3 separate regions of the Homo sapiens genome follow, and regions 1 and 3 are each linked to region 2. The links are contacts of gene promoters, found by promoter capture Hi-C in human tissues and cell types (Jung and others, 2019). All regions are on one chromosome and are shown on one strand. The core of a region is centred on a gene start or on the middle of the fragment in contact, and the rest is flanking DNA. Distances in the headings are between cores, read along the strand shown.

What was found. Contacts are between HindIII fragments. The study calls those that stand out against the background at their distance.
Region 1: the fragment with the promoter of FADS6 here is called in contact with the fragment with the promoter of NUP85 in region 2 in 1 of the 25 tissues and cell types used here (hippocampus).
Region 3: the fragment with the promoter of NAT9 here is called in contact with the fragment with the promoter of NUP85 in region 2 in 1 of the 25 tissues and cell types used here (lymphoblastoid cells).

Annotation. Positions count from the first base shown.
Region 1 is chr17:74,892,330-74,895,260 of GRCh38, reverse strand. FADS6 (fatty acid desaturase 6) reads left to right here and starts at 1,628. Exons shown (of 6, transcript NM_178128.6): 1 at 1,628-1,909; 2 at 2,572-2,738. The coding sequence starts at 1,666. The HindIII fragment of the contact is 12,637 bases long and covers 1-2,931 here.
Region 2 is chr17:75,204,428-75,207,180 of GRCh38, reverse strand. NUP85 (nucleoporin 85) reads right to left here and starts at 1,502. Exons shown (of 19, transcript NM_024844.5): 1 at 1,387-1,502. The coding sequence starts at 1,419. RefSeq lists enhancers at 1,491-1,670, 829-1,762, 1,763-2,697. The HindIII fragment of the contact is 15,269 bases long and covers 1-2,753 here.
Region 3 is chr17:74,775,047-74,777,746 of GRCh38, reverse strand. It overlaps NAT9 (N-acetyltransferase 9), which reads left to right and starts at 1,402. Exons shown (of 7, transcript NM_015654.5): 1 at 1,402-1,480; 2 at 2,040-2,125. The coding sequence starts at 2,049. It overlaps SLC38A12 (solute carrier family 38 member 12), which reads right to left and starts at 1,248. Exons shown (of 10, transcript NM_017728.4): 1 at 1,170-1,248; 2 at 372-483. The coding sequence starts at 416. RefSeq lists an enhancer at 1,601-1,720. The HindIII fragment of the contact is 11,963 bases long and covers 1-2,700 here.

The DNA.
Region 1 (2,931 bases), core at 379-2,878, 310 kb after region 2:
CCTCCCAAAGTGCTGGGATTACAGGTGTGAGCCACCGCGCCTGGCCTTAGATGATGCCATCCTTGAGGGATGTGGGGAATCCACAAAACCTCATCAGTATGTGAAAGTCAATGATAACCTGCGGGGCAGGTATATGCGCACGTGCACTTGGTGAGAATTGGTTTATTAAATTGTCAGTCCCTTAGAATACTGAGCTGGTAAATAAATCTTATTCTTTGATAAAGAATTAAAGGAATAAGCTCATACGAATTCATGATTAGCCAGGCTTAGTGGTCCCCGTGTGTGCCTGTAGTCCCAAGCTACTCAGGAGGCTGAGGGGGAGGATCACTTGAGCCTAGGAAATCGAGGCTGCAGTGAGCTGTGATTGTGCCACTGCACTCCAGCCTGAGTGATAGAGCGAGACCCTGTTTCTAAACAAAGAGAGAAAAAAAAGAATTCCTGAAGGAAAACACCAGGAAGGAGTCAAAAGGAATCAATGTCATTAGGATCCCTGACTGTCTCTCCCTTACCCCACCCACCCAACTTCTCTTTCCTAGGGGTCTCCTGCTAAAGATGCCACTGTCCTCACCATACCAGATCCCTTAAGTCATGAAACTGGGAGTAAGTAAAACAAAAAAGAAAAGAGAAAGGGTATTCAGAAGCAGGGAAGAGGAGTTTGTAGAGGACAGAGGCTTATCCCCTGAGGACCAAGGCCATCTCCAGCAGTGCGGGGTGGGGGCCTGGGCTGATGGGAAGGGGATGTGACAGGTGTGGCTCCCACATCTCAGAGGGCTTGGCTGAGGCCCTGGCCCTGGGTTCAGGCCTGGGCGCTCTTGAGGGAGTGGAATGGCAGCGGGACCCGGCTGGTCTGCCTGCCCACCCAGAATGATGACCTCCGGATGTGTATTCCCTGTAGCTACCCGTCTCACCCAAAACATTATTGGGCTGAAGAGCCAGCTCCCCTGGGTCACCTCTGCTGAAGCCATACTCAGAGGGGACCTCTCACTCCTTGACCCACGGGGAGGGGGAGTGGGGAGTCCTTGAACTTTCTGCCCTAGGAATTCCCAGATGTTTCTGTGCCAAGCATTGCCCTAGGTACTGAAGACAGAGCTTGGGCAAAACGAGGACGTCTCTACGGCACTGAGGGTCCGTCTGTTGGCAGAGACAGACGACAGCATGTGTCATGTGTGTCACGTACGAGGGGAGCTGCTCAGTGCCACTACGAATAGTCAGGGTCGAGGGAAGAGAATGCTCGGACAGATCTCAGGGACCGAGGGAACTCAGGGAGTTATTTGAGGTCGGAGGTCAGGGAAGGCCCTCGGGGCGGGGCGGGGGTGGGGGGTGTCTCCACTGGGGTCTCCGTGCCCCTGACGCCTCCGTCCCTACTACCTGGGCTGGGTCTCACCGCAGGGTCGCCTCCCCGCCTAGCCACTCTCAGCTCATCGGCCTGGCTCCTCCCTCCGCGGCGGTTCTGATGCCGCCTGCCAGGGTCGCGCGCCTGAGCCGGGCCTGGGTCGCCAGCGCCCGCAGCAGAGGAGCCAGGGTGTCTCGCACCTTGACCCCGGGGGCGGGTGTCCCCAGGCGGCGCGTGACTCCGCCCCGGCCCGCCCCGCCTCGCCTGCACCGCAGACACACGCCCCAGTCCTCCAGTCCTCCGTGCGCGTCGGGCCCGAGCCCACAGAGTCCATGGAACCCACGGAGCCGATGGAACCTACGGAGCCCATGGAACCTACGGAGCCCATGGAACCTACGGAGCCCATGGAACCTACGGAGCCCATGGAACCGGCGCGGAGCGCGCACCGTGGGGGCGAGGCGCTGCTGCGGGAGCTGGAGGTGCTGGTGCAGGACGTGGTGAGGACGAGCTCCTGGTGGGAGCGCCACGGCGTGGACTGCGCCATCCTCGCGCTCAGCCTCTTCGCCTTGCCGGCAGGTGAGGAACGCGGGGACCCGGCGTCCCGGCCGGGCTGCGGGTGGGGGCGGGGTGCGGCGGAGGTGGCGGCGCGGGGTCTGCAACAGCAGCCGTGGGAGTGCAGCCTGCGGAGTGGACTGGCGGCGGCAGGGAGGCGGAGGTGGTCGGGGCCCCGCACCCAAGGATGGAGGGTCACACCCCGAACCTGAGAGTCTGGACTGGGGTGTTCTGCCCTGTGTACCCTAGGAGGGGGCGCAGGAGGGTGGTGGAAGGGAAAGTTGAGAGGAGCGGGGGAGTGGCCGGGAGTGATGAGGTGCCCCCCCACCCCCGGGAAGGGAGACGGTGTTCTTTGGGGACCTAGGTGAGTGGGGAGGGGGTGGGAGTTTCCCCTGGACCCTTCCTGGTCTGGAACACCCATGGTACCTGAGGCCCCAACATTGCTTTGGCTGGGGGCCCAGGACCACGCACTGGAGAGTCAGGACCAGGCACGGGAGAGTCAGGACCGCTGGAGGGGCAGTCCTGGTTCCCCTCAGGCCACAGTGGGACCTGCCTCACTCCGGCCAGTGGCAGCCCCCAGAGCCTAGCCCACTTTAGCCTGGGCTCCCAGGGTAAGGGTTGAGGTATTTGGGCCCAGATCACCCAGAGCTAGAGAAAGACCCGTCTTCTTCCTCCTCTCCACGCAGGCTTCCTGTGCCTGCGCTGGGAGAATGCCCTGGTCTTTGCATCCGGCATCACCATCTTGGGTGTGTGCCACTACACACTCACTGTCAAGGGCAGCCACCTGGCCACTCATGGGGCCCTCACCGAGTCCAAACGCTGGAGCAAGATCTGGCTGCTTTTCTTTGTGGAGGTGAGCCTGGGAGAAGGAGGATGCAGGCAGCTGCTGGGACCGTGTGGCAGCCTCATTCTTCTGTTCGAGCATGCGGGTGTGTCCAGCTGTGCATGTGCCCACGGGGGCAGGCCGCTGCAGCTGATGGTATGCCGGTCCACTGGTGCAGTATGCACTACAGCGTGTCTGAGGACTTCTCCAAGCCCTTGAGCGG
Region 2 (2,753 bases), core at 253-2,752:
CCACATATCTCCCCAGAGAGCTTCCCTCACAAATTGCTCACAAGGAAATTCCTTGTGAGCCTCTAAAATTTTCAGGATACACATCGCCCCTATAAACTAGTCCTAAAATCAAGATCTGTTGATTCTGACAATGTCAACTACCAGCTTATCTTCACAAGTAAAAGACCAGAAATCGGCCGGGTGCGGTGGCTCACGCCTGTAATCCCAGCACTTTGGGAGGCCGAGGTGGGCGGATCACGAGGTCAGGAGATTGAGACCATCCTGGCCAACACGGTGAAACCCCGTCTCTACTAAAAATACAAAAAAGTACAAAAAATTAGCCGGGCGTGGTGGCGGGCACCTGTAGTCCCAGCTACTCAGGAGGCTGAGGCAGGAGAATGGTGTGAACCCGGGAGGCGGAGGTTACAGTGAGCCGAGACCGCGCCACTGCACTCCAGCCTGGGAGACAGAGCGAGACTCCGTCTAAAAAATAACAGTAATAATAACCATAATCCCTCTACCTACCCTGAGATGAATGCATACATAAAATTTTCCTCTGCTCCCTCTTTTCACAGGTAAAATGCAGATTTACTGAGGCTAATCACCGACTCACAAGAATGTAATCATTTGCCTCCTCACTGCCTAACCTCCCTTTTTTGCCCCTCCTGCTAGCTCCTTCCTCTTTAACTAGTGATGTTCCCAAAACCATCTTTGGAAAAAGCACAGGTCTCAGATCCTCCTGTGACCTGTGCTTTTTCCCGGTTGGATCCTCAACCTTAGCTAATTAAACCTTTATCGGTTGAGACCTGCCTCAGTCACTTCTGGTTAACAAGAGGGAAAACAAGAGCAATCCAACTAGCAGAAACGGTAGGTATCTCGTACATAAAGCGCGTGAATTTTTTTTATACACATCACAGATCATCCACAGTTGACATACTGTCTTCAAAGTTCAAATGGAATTGAATGCACAGCGATAAAACAGGAATAGTCTCCTGAGATAATACGTTGAATAAACCTTAGGCCACACAGGCAGAAGCTCAATGTGCCGCGATGCAGAGCTTAATACGGCTGGAATAAAAATATAAATTCCTCTGCTTGGGCTGAACCCACTCTAATGCCCAAGAGGAAAAGCAAGGGAAGTAAAAAGGCCAGGAACACAAAGGAAGGAAAGGGACGGAGTGGGACCTTCGAGGCCGGGGTTTGTGACTGGTGGCAGAAACCCCGCGACCACTGCGACCCTAGGGCGGGCACCTCGTTAACACTGCGACCTCCGGAAAAGTGGCAACTGAGTCGAGGGAAGGGGACGAGCGCCTCGCGACCACTAGGGAAGCAGACAAGCCTGAAGTAACTAAGCAGACGCAGTTCTCAACCCGCAAGGACGAGCAAGCCTGTTCGGGGTACCCTTACAGTGACTGTTGGCTCGCCATCGAGCTCCTCCATAGCGCCGAACCCCAGGCTCCTAGAAGTCGCTCGGACGCCAATGCTTCCCGCTCAGGCCTCCCGCTCAGAGCTGGCTGCGAGACAAGACTCCGCCTGGGCGTCTCCTGCAGCGCCTGCAAGCCCAAACCCTCAGTGCTGCGGCGCTGTCTCCTCTCAGCCACGGCCACCCCTCTGCGGTCCTCTGCACGCGTCCTTCCTTCCTGGCGTCGACAGCAAATCAGGGAAAACAGCGCCGAGGACTGACTGCACTCAGAGTACCGCGCTAACAGGATCAGGCGGCGCCGGGGACACCCTGGTGCCGAGCGGAGAAAAGGCCCCCGGAGACGGCGGGAGGGGCAGGAGGACCCCGGGGCTGGAGACGGTGCGAATGCGCGTGCGTAGGCTGGGGCGGCGGCACTTGGGTGGGAACTCGTGCGGGATTTAGGTCCCAGTAAGCGTACAACGTCTCCCAACTCTGGGAGTCCTCGCTACATCCCGGTCTCCACCTTAGTGTCGTCGCAGCCACTTGTCCAAACCCCGACAGTCAAACGGGCTTGTGCTGGAAAGCAATCGCCTCCACTTCCACACTAGAACACACACAAGAGGCACGGGAACAAAATCGATACCCCTGAAGGCCCGGCGCTGTGGCTCAAGCCTCTAATCCCAACACTTTGGCAGCCCAAGGTGGGTGGATCACTGGAGTTCAGGAGTTCAAGACCAGTCTGGCCAATATGATGAAACCTCGTCTCTACTAAAAATATAAAAAATTAGACGGGCGTGGTGGCGGACACCTGTAATTCCAGCTACTCGGAAGGCTGAGGCAAGAGAATTGTTCCAACCCGGGAGGTGGAGGTTGCATTGAGCCAAGATCGCACCACTGCACTCCAGCCTGGGAGACAGAGCGAGACTCCGTCTCAAAAAAAAAAAAAAAAATTAGCTGTGCTTGGTAGCGCGCGCCTGTAATCCCAGCACTCCGGGACGCCGAGGTGGTTGGATCACCTGAGGTCAGGAGTTCAAGACCAGCCTGGACAACATGGCGAAACCCCGTCTCTACTGAAAATACAAAAATTAGCCGGGAGTGGTGGCGGACACCTGTAATCCCAGCTACTCGTAAGGCTGAGGCAGGAGAATTGTTCCAACCCGGGAGGCGGAGGTTGCAGTGAGCCAAGATCGCGCCACTGCACTCCATCCTGGGCGACAGACGGAGACTCCGTCTCAAAAAAAAAAAAATTATTTTGCTGAGTCTCAAAAAAAAATTATTTTGCTCTTTTTCTCTTAATAAGTTTCCGTTATACCTCAAGTTGGAGTTATCGCCTGTGTAATTGAAAACTTTTCCAGAGTTAAATACAGTTTGA
Region 3 (2,700 bases), core at 153-2,652, 430 kb after region 2:
GGTTTTACCATGTTGGCCAGGCTGGTCTTGAACTCCTGACCTCAGGTGATCTGCCCGCTTCAGCCTCCCAAAGTGCTGGGATTACAGGCGTGAGCCACCGTGCCCAGCCCGGGATTAACATTATAAACAGCATGGCGATTTTGTTTGGCTTGACCACTCTGACAAACACCTTAAAAAGAGAATAAATCTGACTTACATTCTGAGCCACCACAGCAGCACTGTAGTCGCTGCCCCATGGAACTCCCCCATCCTGCTTCCACTATGGTCTGCTCAAGCAGCAGCACTCACTAGTCCCATCTCCAGCAAGCAATGTGCTTTTCTAGAAGCCAGGAACACTTAAGTGAGCAAAAGGTTCTATAAGTCACACTCACGTAGGAAGAGTAGAGTTCCCCGGTCTCTGTAATTTCACCCGCCATTTCCAAAAGTGAGGAAGGGCTGGCAGCAGAGGTTCCTTAGGTGCAAGGACGGCGGCTGCCGCAGCTCCTTAAAACAAAAGAGCAGGCTTCACCTATCTGATGGACTGAGACAGGGGTGGGAGGAGGCTTGCAGACTTCCCCTGCCACCTCTGGTTCTTTTATCACAGACACTTAGGGCCTCAGTATCTGTCACAAGACTCACCCCCGAGGGAGGGGTCACCCTGGATGACAGAAATCTGGACGGTTTCTTCTAACATTTCCCTTGCTGTGCAGGGCACTGCTCTGTGCCCAGCACGGATGTTTTCAATGCTGCTCGGGGTGCAAGTGATTTAAGGGGCCTCTAAAACCACTAAGTCTCACCCACCACAAGAGCCCCCTTTCCACGCTCTGGGGTGGTTATCCTCGTTTAGTTCCAGGAACCAGGAGCTCACTACCACACATGGGAGCCCAAGGAACTGTCTGCCGCCTCTGCCTAGGGCAGGGAGCTGGGGGCTTTCCTACATTGCCCTTCCAACTCCACTCTTGGCACTAAGGCCTCCTTTTTTTAATGGGGCCTCCACTCCCTGGCCCCACCTACTCTCTTAGGGTTCCCCACCCTCAAAGCTCCCTCTTTTCTCAAGAACCCCACTCCCAGCCTCTCCCTCTCTCTCCCTCCTGGAGGAGTCCCGAGTCTAGTGCCGCCCCGCCCCGCCCCAACCTATCCCGACCCGTCTCGTCCTCTCCCGCCCGTCCCGACCCGACCCGACCCAACACCTGCAGCACAGCCAGCTCCCAAGCCGCCGTCTCCCGCCGGTCCGCTGCTGCCGGCGCCAGCTGTCCAGCACCAGCTTCCGCAGCGCGCATGCGCCGGCCCCACAGCCCACCTTTTTCGCGCGCGCTGATTGGGCGCCTCGCGGGGGCGGGACCGGGATTGGGGCCTGGCGGCTGCCGTCAGCATGGCGGAAGTGGGCGGGGCGCGTTCTCACGCGCATGCGGAAGGGGCGGTAGCCGGCCGGGCCTGGGAACGTGGCTGGTTGGAGGAGGTAGATCACCCTTTCTGCGGGGGACGATTTCGTCGGTGGTAGGTGGGTGTGAGCTTGGCAGTACCCGGGTCCGCGTGGTTGGAGGGTCGAAGAGAGTGGTCTAGAACGCCACTCAAAGGGGAGGGCCTAAGACTAAGCCCGCCTTGCCCTGAAGTGGTCGGGGGCGGGGAGGGAGTGGCTAGAGCCCCGTGGGGTGGTCGCCGGGGTAAGAGGTTGGAAGTAGGTTTAAGGCAGGGCTGAAAGTTGATTCTGGGTTGGAATCCCTGGACTGGGGCAAGTAATGGGAGCTCTGGGGATACTTTGGTACTTGGTACTTGGTGCTTGGGTTTGAGGAATCGAAGTTCTGGGGAGTGGACGGAAGGAACCGGCAGAAACGGAGCCCAGGCTTGGCCTCTTGGAGTGGGAGTCAAGGATTGTTTAATTATCCTTAACCAGCCTGGTTCTCTTTCTTGCAAGAATTTTGGAGTCTGTATTCTTTGAAGTGTCTAGACGGAACTAATGACGGAAGTCAACTTAGCCCCAGCAGGAAAGCTGGAGCGCCTACCCAAAGTTGGAGGAAATTCAGGGTCCTGAAGTCTTTGCTCTCCCCATCTGCATGCAGGCTGCTACCATGAGGTTGAATCAGAACACCTTGCTGCTGGGGAAGAAGGTGGTCCTTGTACCCTACACCTCGGAGCATGTGCCCAGGTATCTTTCCCGCTTGACATGGGGTGCGTATCAGCACCCAGAGCTGTGTAAGGTACAGCCCCAGTCTCAGGGCTATTTCCCCTAAGAAGAAACATTGGTTGTGAGAAATAATTATATATGAGGGGGGAAAAAAGGCTGGGTGCCGTGGCTCACGCCTGTAATTCCAGGACTTTGGGAGGCTGTGGCAGGAGGATTGCTTGAGCCCAGCAGTTCGAGACCAGCTTGGGTAACGTAGCGAGACCTTGTCTCTACAAAAAAATACAAAAATTAGCCAGGCATGGTGGTGCACAGCTGCAGTCCCAGCTACTAGGGAGGCTGAGGTGGGAGGATTGCCTGAGCCCAGGAGATGAAGACTGCTGTGAGCTGTGATTGTACCACTGTACTCCAGCCTGGGTGACAGAGCAAGAACCTGTCTCAAAAAAAAACAAAAAAAACAAAAAAACAAAAACAAACAAAAACAAAAAAACGGCCGGGTGCGGTGGCTCACGCCTGTAATCCCAGCACTTTGGGAGGCTGAGGCGGGTGGATCATGAGGTCAGTAGTTCAAGACCAGCCTGGCCAACATGATAAAACGC